3 separate regions of the Homo sapiens genome follow, and all the other regions are linked to region 3. The links are contacts of gene promoters, found by promoter capture Hi-C in human tissues and cell types (Jung and others, 2019). All regions are on one chromosome and are shown on one strand. Each heading gives the region's core, a stretch centred on a gene start or on the middle of the fragment in contact. The rest is flanking DNA. Distances are from core to core; before and after follow the strand shown. Region 1 has its middle 11 kb from the start of ELFN2. Region 2 overlaps TPTEP2-CSNK1E (TPTEP2-CSNK1E readthrough). Region 3 holds the start of MICALL1 (MICAL like 1).

Region 1 (2,875 bases), core at 186-2,685, 470 kb after region 3:
CTTGAACTCCTGACCTCAGGTGATCTGCCTGTTTCGGCCTCCCAAAGTGCTGGGGTTACAGGCATGAGCCACCACGCCCAGCTGTAAGTGCTTTTTATAAATACTGTGGTGGTTTTAAAACATGACCCCAATTTTGGACACTCTTCCTGTTGAAGGGTGGGGTCTATGTCCCTTCCTTTTAATTGTGGGCTGGACTTAGTGACTCTATTATATCAATAGAAAACAGCAGAAGTGATGTTTTGTCATTTCCAAGGGCAAGTGTTTTCCTCCTGTTTCTCCCGGGATGCTTGTTCTGGGGGAAGTCAGCTGCCATGTAATAAGCCCGGCTCCTCTGGTTCTGCTCTGCTGCAGATAGCCACTTCAGTCACCAGCTCCAACAGAGCTGCCAACCGATGGCAGGCATCAGGTGCCAGCTGTGCGGGTGAACCATCTTGATTGTACCCATCCCAGCTGAGCTATCAGATAATGGCAGCTCCAGCAGACATCTGAGGCTAACTGCATGAAAACCCCAAGCAAAAACAACCCAGCTAAGCCCTTCCATTCTTGACCCACAAAATTTTGAGCAAAATAAAGCAGGTGTGCCTTTTTTTTTTTCGCACCACTAGAATTTCTAATTAGCAATGATCACCAGAAGACATAGAACTCATTTAATCTCCATTTCTCAGATAAAGAAATTGAGACCCAGAGAGATTAAGCAACTTGCATATGTTCTCATGGAAGAGATAAGAGATGAGTACAGTTGATTCCAATATTCCGCCTCTTGACGATAATAAGGGGAGAAAATGCAAAGTTAACAAGTAGTTATGCAAAACATGTAAAAATGTGCCAGCCAGGCTCAGGGCTGTTGAGGAACCCCTTGTTTTTGTTTTTGTTTTTGTTTTTGGAGACAGGTTCTTGCTCTGTTACCCAGGCTGGAGTGCAGTGGTACAATCATAGCTCACTGTAGCCACACCTCCTGGGCTCAAGTGATCTTCCCACCTCAGCCTCCCAAGTAGCTGGGACTACAGATGACACCACTGTGCCTGATTGATTTTTTTTTTTTTTTTTGGTAGAGATGGGGTCTTATTGTGTTGCCCAGGCTGGTCTCAAATTCCTGAGCTGGATGATCCTCCCATCTTGACCTCCCAAAGTGCTGGGATTACAGGCATAAGCCATGGCACCCGGTTTCCTTTGGACCCATTTTGGATGGATGGACTGTATAGTACACACAGCACCTTGAAGAACTGAGCAATTCCTGCAAAAATCGCAATTAATTTCACATTTCAAATTTGCAAAATGTCAGTGAATGAAATTCTAACAACCTTCTTTCATCTGAAACCTCCAAACTGCCTGGGGATCATCAGGGTTTTGAGACCGCACAGGGGAAGCTCTGACCCCTTGACTCAGCATTTTAAGCTCAGAAGCTTCCCGGTGAAAAATATTAGAGCCATTAAATTAAAGGACATCAAATTTAACTGTTGGATGCACCTTGGAGTCCATTGCATCTAACCTTCCACCCAGGGCAAGACAAGAAAACACATGTGTGAGTGAAGCAACCGTTCGATATGACGGTCTGAGCAGCTGCGGCAGACAGCTTGTGATTAACAGTTAAGGAACTGCAGAGAAAATATGGACATCAGATCACAGGGCTCAGGTGGTCACTGAGGCCGGGGACGGGGCCAGCCTCAAGGGTATGTAACCTGCGCACTCGCTCAGGGCTCCCCACCTGGAAGGATCCCGTGCTTGGTTTAATGCTCTGCTATTGCTGTCTTGAAATTCATAATAATTTTTGAACAAGGAGTCCAGAGTCCAGATTTTCATTTTTCACTGAGCTTCACAAAATCGGTAGCTGGTTCAGGCTGGGGAGGTCGGGGGCTGGTTCAGGAATGACCGTTTCAGACAGGTGAGCAGGACAGGCAAGACCTGGGGGCTAGAAAACCCCATTAGTTTGGGAAGCAGTGACTTGCCCAAGATCACCAGTCAGGAAGTGGTAGCACAAGGGTTTAAACCCAGGCCTCTCGGACTCCAGGGTCTGTGGTCTTATTTTTTGAGTCGGAGTTTTGCTTTTGTCGCCCAGGCTGGAGTGCAATGGCGCAATCTCTGCTCACTGCAACCTCCGCCTCCTGGGTTCAAGCAAGTCTCCAGCCTCGTCCTCCTGAGTAGCTGGGTTTACAGATGCCCACCACCACAGCCTGATAATTTTTGTATTTTTAGTAGAGCTGGGATTTAACCATGTTGGCCAGCCTGCTCTTGAACTCCTGACCTCAAGTGATCCACCTGCCTTGGCCTCCCAAATTGTTGGGATTACAGGTGTGAGCCACTGCGCCCAGCCTGGCCTGTGGTCTTAAATACTTTACTCTCTGTCTCCTGGGAAGGACCTCACACCTGAGCTGCTCTCTTGACTGTTCTTAAAATTGTGGCTTTCTCTTCCAAGGAGACTTCCTGGATTGCTCCAGCAGTTGTGCTCACCACTCCCTCCTTCCTTCATTCTTCCTTCCCATGGTCCTCGTGCCTGCCCCCGTTTCCTTTCCCCACTCCTCTTGGCTGGCATCTACCATGGCTTCCAGGCCCCCAGGCCCATTCTGATGGGGCCTTACCCCCGAAAAAAGAAGTCTTGGGCTCAGTTTTCTTGCTGCATACCGAATAGACTCCATGGTACAGCTTTTTTCACCTTCCCACTCTTAGAGCTGGGCTTCTGTCTCAGTTTCCCTGCCTAAAACTCCAATGAATGTGGGATAATGGGAGTCAGATGGGCCTGGTTCACCTCCTGCCCTACCATCACTCCAGTGCAAGCAGCTTCACCTCTCCAGGCCTCAGTTTAAGGCCTATCTGTTAAGCGAAGGAAGCGCCACCCTAACCAAGTGACCAGGGTTAGTATCACCAATGATCCATCCTG
Region 2 (3,217 bases), core at 186-2,685, 400 kb before region 3:
CAAAGTGAAGCTGTCTCAAAAAAAAAAGAAAAAAGAAATACAAACAGTAGTACTCGAAGAGTGGAGTAAGGGCTCGAGGGGAAGAGGGCCCTGTCTACCACTACCTCCCCAGCACCTCTCCTCCCTGCACACATCTGCCGAATCACCAAGTGCTGCAGGCCCTGCCTCCAAAGTGTCAATCAGTTTCTGCACCCTGCCCAGGCAGGGCCACCGTCAGCTCTTGCCTGGTCTCTGTAGTGGCCTTCCCAGGCCTTCCACTACCCCTCTAGCCTCCTCCAGCCCTTTCGTATCCACCAGGTAGCCTCAACAGGGTGATTTTTGTCCCCCAGGAGACATATGTCAAGATCTGGAGACCTTTTGGTTGTTACAATTCAGGGGGAAAGGGGTGCCCTGGCATCTAGTGGGTAGAAGTCATGGGTGCTGTTAGACTGTGCAGTGCCCAGGGCAGCCCCACAACCAGGAATTCTCCAGCTCCAGTGTCAGTAGTGCCACGGTTGAGAGATCCTGTGATCACACACCTGAACATGGCCCTTGGTGCCTCAGGCTGAAGGCCAGGATCTTAGCCGGCCATTCAAGACCCTTCAGATCTCTTCCCTGCCCACCTCTTCCACTGTCTTTTTCTGCCACCCCATGGTTCCCGCTGCACCTGCTGCTGTTGGGCCTCTGCTTGTGCCGTGACCTCTCTTGTCTGTCCAGTACAGTCCTGTTTGGGAGCCAGGAGCCCTTGCAGCCTGCCCTCCCGGAGGCTCTCCTTTCCTCATAGCATGGCTTATTCCCTCTTCCCCTCCTCCCACTGGGTGGACACCGGCTCATCTCTAGCCTAGGGGCTGCACTTCCCACCAAGCCGAACATCATGGAGCATTGACTGTGTGCCAGGCACTCTTGTAAGCATGTTTGTCTGTCAGAACATCCCAATGAGCCAGATAGTGTCATCGGTTTACACATGAGGTACCTGGGGCTCAGAGGGGTGAAGTGCCTTGTCCGACGACCCCTGGCCAGGGGATGTCCGAGTCAGGATTTGGGCTCTAGTAGGTTGGCTCTGAAACTCACACTTCAACCGCTGCACTCTCCTGCCTCTCTGCTCATGGGGAAATGGAGCATGGCCAGGGGACTCTAAGGATCCTCACTGTCCCCTGGAAACCTGTGTGGCTCATCCCAGTGACGAGCATTGATGTGTCAAAAGCTCTTTACAGTTTGCAAAGTACTTTCATTCCTGTTGCTGGCTAGATTGAGTTATTCATTCTGTTTTTCTTTTTCTTTTATTAAAAATCCAAATACTCAAAAATCAAAACACAAAAATGTGTTAAGTGAAAGAAGCCAGTCACAAAAAATCACGTTGTATGATTCTGTTTGATTCTATTTCTGTGAAATGTCCAGAAAAGACAAATCCATAGAGACAGAATGTAGATTAGTTGGGGGGCAGGGGATGGAGCGAGGAGATAGGACCTTACCCCACTAAAGGCTACAGGTGTTTTCAGGGTGATGAAAATACAGCCCTCCTGGGCCAGGCACAGTGGCTCATGCCTGTAATTCCTGCACATTGGGAGGCTGAGGCAGGTGAATCACTTGAGCCCAGGAGTTGGAGACCAGCCTAGAGATGGCAAACCCTGTCTACAAAAAATACAAAAATTAGCCAGGTGTGGTGGCTTGCGCCTGTAGTCCAGCTACTCGAGAGGCTGAAGTGGGAGGCTCACTTGCGCCCCAGAGGTTGAGGCTGCAGTGAGCTGTGTTAGTGCCACTACAGTCCAGCCTGGGTGGCAGATTGAGACCCTGTCTCAAAAAGAAAAAGAAAATACAGCCCTCCACCTTCGGTACCTGTGGGGAATAGGTTCCAGGATCCCCCTCAGATACCAGAATCCTCTGATTCTCAAGTTCCTGATATAAAAAGCTGTAGTATTTGTATATAAGCTACGCGCATCCTCTGTATACTTTTTTTTGTTTTGAGACGGAGTCTCGCTGTGTCGCCAGGCTGGAGTGCAGTTGTGTGATCTCGGCTCACTGCAACCTCCGCCTCCCAGGTTCAAGAGATTCTCCTACCTCAGCCTCCTGAGAGCTGGGATTACAGGCGCTCCCACGGGAGCACCTTGGCTAATTTTTGTATTTTTAGTAGAGATGGGGTTTCATCATGGTGGTCAGGCTGGTCTGGAACTCCTTGCCTGGTGATCCGCCTGCCTCAGCCTCCCAAAATGCTGGCACCTGGCCTTCTCCATATACTTTAAATCATCTCTAGATCACTTATAATACCTAATACAATGTAAATGCTATGTAAATAGTTATTGTACTGTATTTTTAATTTTTATATTATTTACCTATTTATTTTTGAGACATGGTCTTGCTCTGTCACCCAGGCTGGAGTGTGGTGGTGTGATCATAGCTCACCGCAACCTTGACTTACTAGGTTCAAGCAGTCCTCCTGCCTCAGCCTCCCAGGTAGCTGGGACCACAGGCACGTGCTACCACGCCTGGCTAATATTTGTATTTTTTGTAGAGATAGGGTCTCACTATGTTGCTTAGGCTGGTCTCGAACCGCTGGACTCAAGTAATCCTCCTCAGCCTCCCAAAGTGGTAGTACTACAGTTGTGCATCACTGCACCCAACCTATTTCTTATTGTTGTGTTGTTATTTTTTATTTTCTCCCCCCACGTATTTTTGATCCATGGTTGAATCGGCAGATGCGGAACCCACAGCAGATGCTGATACGAAGGTATCAGCTGATAAGAAGATGCTGTGTTCTAATTTTTAATTTTTTTTTTTTTTTTTTTGAGATGGAGTCTTGCTCTGTCGCCAGGCTGGAGTGCAGTGGCACAATCTCGGCTCACTGCAACCTCTGCCTCCTGGGTTCAAGCAATTCTCCTGCCTCAGCCTGCCGAGTAGCTGGGATTACAGGCGTGCGCCACTACGCCCAGCTAATTTTTGTACTTTTAATGGAGATGGGGTTTCACCATGTTGGCCAGGATGGTCTTGATCTCTTGACCTTGTGATCCGCCTGCCTCGGCCTCTCAAAGTGCTGGGATTACAGGCGTGAGCCACCGCGCCCGGCCTGTGTTCTAAAATTGATTGTGGTAATGGCTGCGCAAGCTTGTGAATATACTAAAAACGGTGAGTCGCACACTTTGAGTGACTCAATTGGAGAGTTATCTGAATTACATCTCAATAAAGGTGTTGAAAGAAATTGCAACTTATAACACAGTATCCAGTGAAGCGTCCCCCACCCCTT
Region 3 (3,022 bases), core at 18-2,517:
ATGCGAAAGGGGTAGGGACCAGAACTCTCCTCCCTGATTCACAGGTGAGACCTGAAGTGCAAGGAATGGCACCAGATAAACTCACCCAGTGTTTTAGGAATGAAGGGACGAAAGGAGGAGAGGTTCCAGGGCTCAAGGCAGAGAGAGCAAAGACAGAGGCTCCAAGTCAACTGTTCCGGGGAGTCTGAATGCATTTTCCCATGAGAACCTCATTGGGCAGCTCTGGGCAGGAAGGGGCCATTTCACAACCTGCAGCACCCGGTTGGTGTCTATCAATCGGATCCTAGGAGTCTTCCCAACATTGCCGGCCTGTGACTCCTCTTGCGCGCCCCACCTGCGTGCCCCACTGAGGAGGGCTGCAGGGCCATCGAGCACACACCCGGGAGGCAGGGCTGCGTCCTAAGTTGGGGGGCGTGGGGAAAGCACAGGGTCTGTACATCCATTCATCCAACACCTGTTAGCCGAGGTCTCCTCTGTGCCGGGAACTGTGCTACTGTCCGGAGACAAGCTCCTATTTGGGGGTCAGAGAAGTGGGGGTTCACCTGCACACCCGGAGCAAGGGGCCACCCCGAGTGGGAAGCCTCGGGGGAGAGGGGAGGCCCGGCGAGCCCGTGGAGAAGAGTTTAGGGTAGGAGAGGCCCAGGGCCCCCAAAGAGGGCTCAACACCCCTTCAAAGAGGTCAAGGGCTTAGGGGTTCAGCGATCCTCGGCGGAAATCAGCGCTTTGTGGGCGGGGCCAGTGTCCCCGCGGAGGGACCAGCCTCGGGGGAGAGTTCGGGATCCCACGGGCGGGGTCAGGGCGGCCGGGCGGGGGAGGGGCGCCCTGGGCCGGGGTCTCAGGGACCCGCCCGGCGTCCGGGGCCGTCGGGGGGGTCGGCGTCTCCGTGTCCGGGGGCGGCGCCTGTCACCGCCCGGGCTTCGTGTTACTGAGGGGGGGCGGCGGTCGCGGCCCCAGCCCGCCCCGCGCCGCCCGCTCGCCCGGGGCCCCGCACTCACAGCAGGTCGGGCCGGTGCCGGTGCAGGATGGCGCAGAAGGCCAGGCCGTCCCGGAAGGAGCTGCTCAGGTCGCGGATCTCCACGCCGCGGTAGCCCTCGCACTGGCGGCGGCACCAGGCCAGCAGCGCGCCCCGCGGCCCAGCCATGACCCCGCGGCCCGCCCGGCTCCGGCTCTGGCTTCGGGGCCCCGGCTTGGCCGGGACGGCGGCCGCCGCGCGGGCCCGGTTTCCGGCTGCGGCTGCGGCTCCGAGCTCGGGCGCCGACCGGCAGGCGAGGGGAGGGGCGGAGGCGGGGCCGCGGTGTCCTCGCTCGGGCGCCCCGCGGCCCTGCCCTAACCTGCCCGAGCAGCGCCGCCGCGTGGCCCGGCCCGGCCGGCCGCCGCCTACTCCGCGCTGCCCGCTCGCCTCATTGTGGGCCGGTCGTGGGAGCGGGCGTCCCGCCGCCTCCGTCCGCGCCGGAGGCGCGCCCCACCCAGCAGCAGCTCCGCCTCCAGTGCGGAGCCCACCCCTACCAAGACGGGCCGGCGCCCCATCGCCCGCCCCTCGACGGCGCCGGGCTCCCGCTGCTCCACTGGGTGCCCGCGAAGCCCCCGCACCCGCCGCAAGCGGACCACTCCCCACGATGACTTCACCGCCGCGGCCGCCGCCGCGCCACCCACCGGGAGCCCTCCACCCTTTGGAGGCGGGACACCTCGTGCTCCCATCCGGCCTCCTTCCCGCTCCTAATGACCGCAAATCCCCCCTTCCACCCCTAGCTTGAAACTTTGGGGAGGCAGTTCCCCTGCAGACCTCAGAGCACCCCCCCCCGGATAGCCACCAGCTTCCCTCATCCCGGCTCCCCACCCTAAAGCACCGCTGAGCTGGAAGTTGTCATGTCCACCATCCCCTCCCCCATAGCTTGGCAGGGAGACCCATGCGCCCCTCCGCCACCTTTGGTCCAGGTGTCCCCTAGGTGATTCACTGAGCTCCCCTCAGCCCCTGTGTAAGCTCAGGGATCTCGTCCCTCCCCACTGCGGCCTGCCGGGTCCCCTCAGCCATGGTTAGTGTGGTGGTGGTTTGAGTTCCTATGGGAAGGACCTAGGCCAAGGAGGCCCCTGCCTGGGAGGCATACAGGCAGTTTGTATCTGGCCCTGGAACCTCCCCAAGGCTCATTCTCTATCTTTGCCGTCTTCAAAACCCCCGCCAGCCAACCGACCCTTCCAGCCAGCCAACCCTTCCAGCCAGCCGACCCTTCCGCAGAGGCCCCTCCTGACTCTCCCACAGATGAATCAGCCTCCATCTGCTGCAGAGGTGGTGATGTCACCCTGACCCATGCAATAGTTAGCTGGAGTGGGTATTTCGCTCCCTCCCAAGGGAAGGAACAGGGTCTTAGTCATCTTCATCACCCCTGAGCACTCAGGGGAGTGGAAAGATCAGGCATTTTGGAGCCCTATTAACCCAATCTCCAATCCTGGCTTTCCCCACTCCCTTAGTCATGTGATCTTGTGCCTCCCTGGACCTCAGTTTCCACGACTTAAAAATGGAGATAATACCTGCTTTACAAGGTGGCTGAGAGGATTAAGATGTAAAGTGCCTTACCCTTTAGTTATCACTCATAAATTCTATTGACTCCTGGTACTTGGTAAACATGATGAAATGGACTGAAATATTTTGTACCCAGATTGTCATCTGGGCCATTCTGGGTAAATTATCAAGGAGAGAGGCCGACTTAGGGAATTCTACCTCTTCAAAGTCCACTGAGTCCCAGTCCAGAATACTGGCCCAGGGCCTGGAGAACCCAGCTTGCCAATCTGGGCTGGCCTAACACTCCTGCAACTGGAAGGCCGCCATCTTGGCTCAGTATATGGACTCTCAGGCCACCTAGGAAGAGCATGGCCAGAGTGCCTGGCTAGCCCTCTGGACTTCTCACCAGCCCTGAGCTGCCAACTCCTGCCCTGTCCCCTGTGGGATAACAGTGGCAGGAAAGCAGGATTCCGGATGCTTTTTATGAAATCAGGGACTTGGGTTCAGGATCCTGACACCAGCATC

Evidence for each region. Contacts are between HindIII fragments. The study calls those that stand out against the background at their distance.
Region 1: a fragment that was not itself captured here is called in contact with the fragment with the promoter of MICALL1 in region 3 in 1 of the 25 tissues and cell types used here (spleen).
Region 2: a fragment that was not itself captured here is called in contact with the fragment with the promoter of MICALL1 in region 3 in 1 of the 25 tissues and cell types used here (liver).

Annotation. Positions count from the first base shown.
Region 1 is chr22:37,437,085-37,439,959 of GRCh38, reverse strand. No RefSeq gene overlaps it. Among named protein-coding and RNA genes, the nearest start is that of ELFN2, 11 kb to the right of the region's middle. The HindIII fragment of the contact is 6,756 bases long and covers 1-2,875 here.
Region 2 is chr22:38,306,275-38,309,491 of GRCh38, reverse strand. The region is part of intron 6 of TPTEP2-CSNK1E (TPTEP2-CSNK1E readthrough); the gene reads left to right. The region is part of intron 2 of CSNK1E (casein kinase 1 epsilon); the gene reads left to right. Among named protein-coding and RNA genes, the nearest start is that of CSNK1E, 9.6 kb to the left of the region's middle. The HindIII fragment of the contact is 4,739 bases long and covers 1-3,217 here.
Region 3 is chr22:37,904,542-37,907,563 of GRCh38, reverse strand. It overlaps MICALL1 (MICAL like 1), which reads right to left and starts at 1,267. Exons shown (of 16, transcript NM_033386.4): 1 at 996-1,267. The coding sequence starts at 1,141. RefSeq lists enhancers at 1-128, 129-944, 945-1,760, 1,761-2,576 and silencers at 715-824, 935-1,654. The HindIII fragment of the contact is 31,369 bases long and covers 1-3,022 here.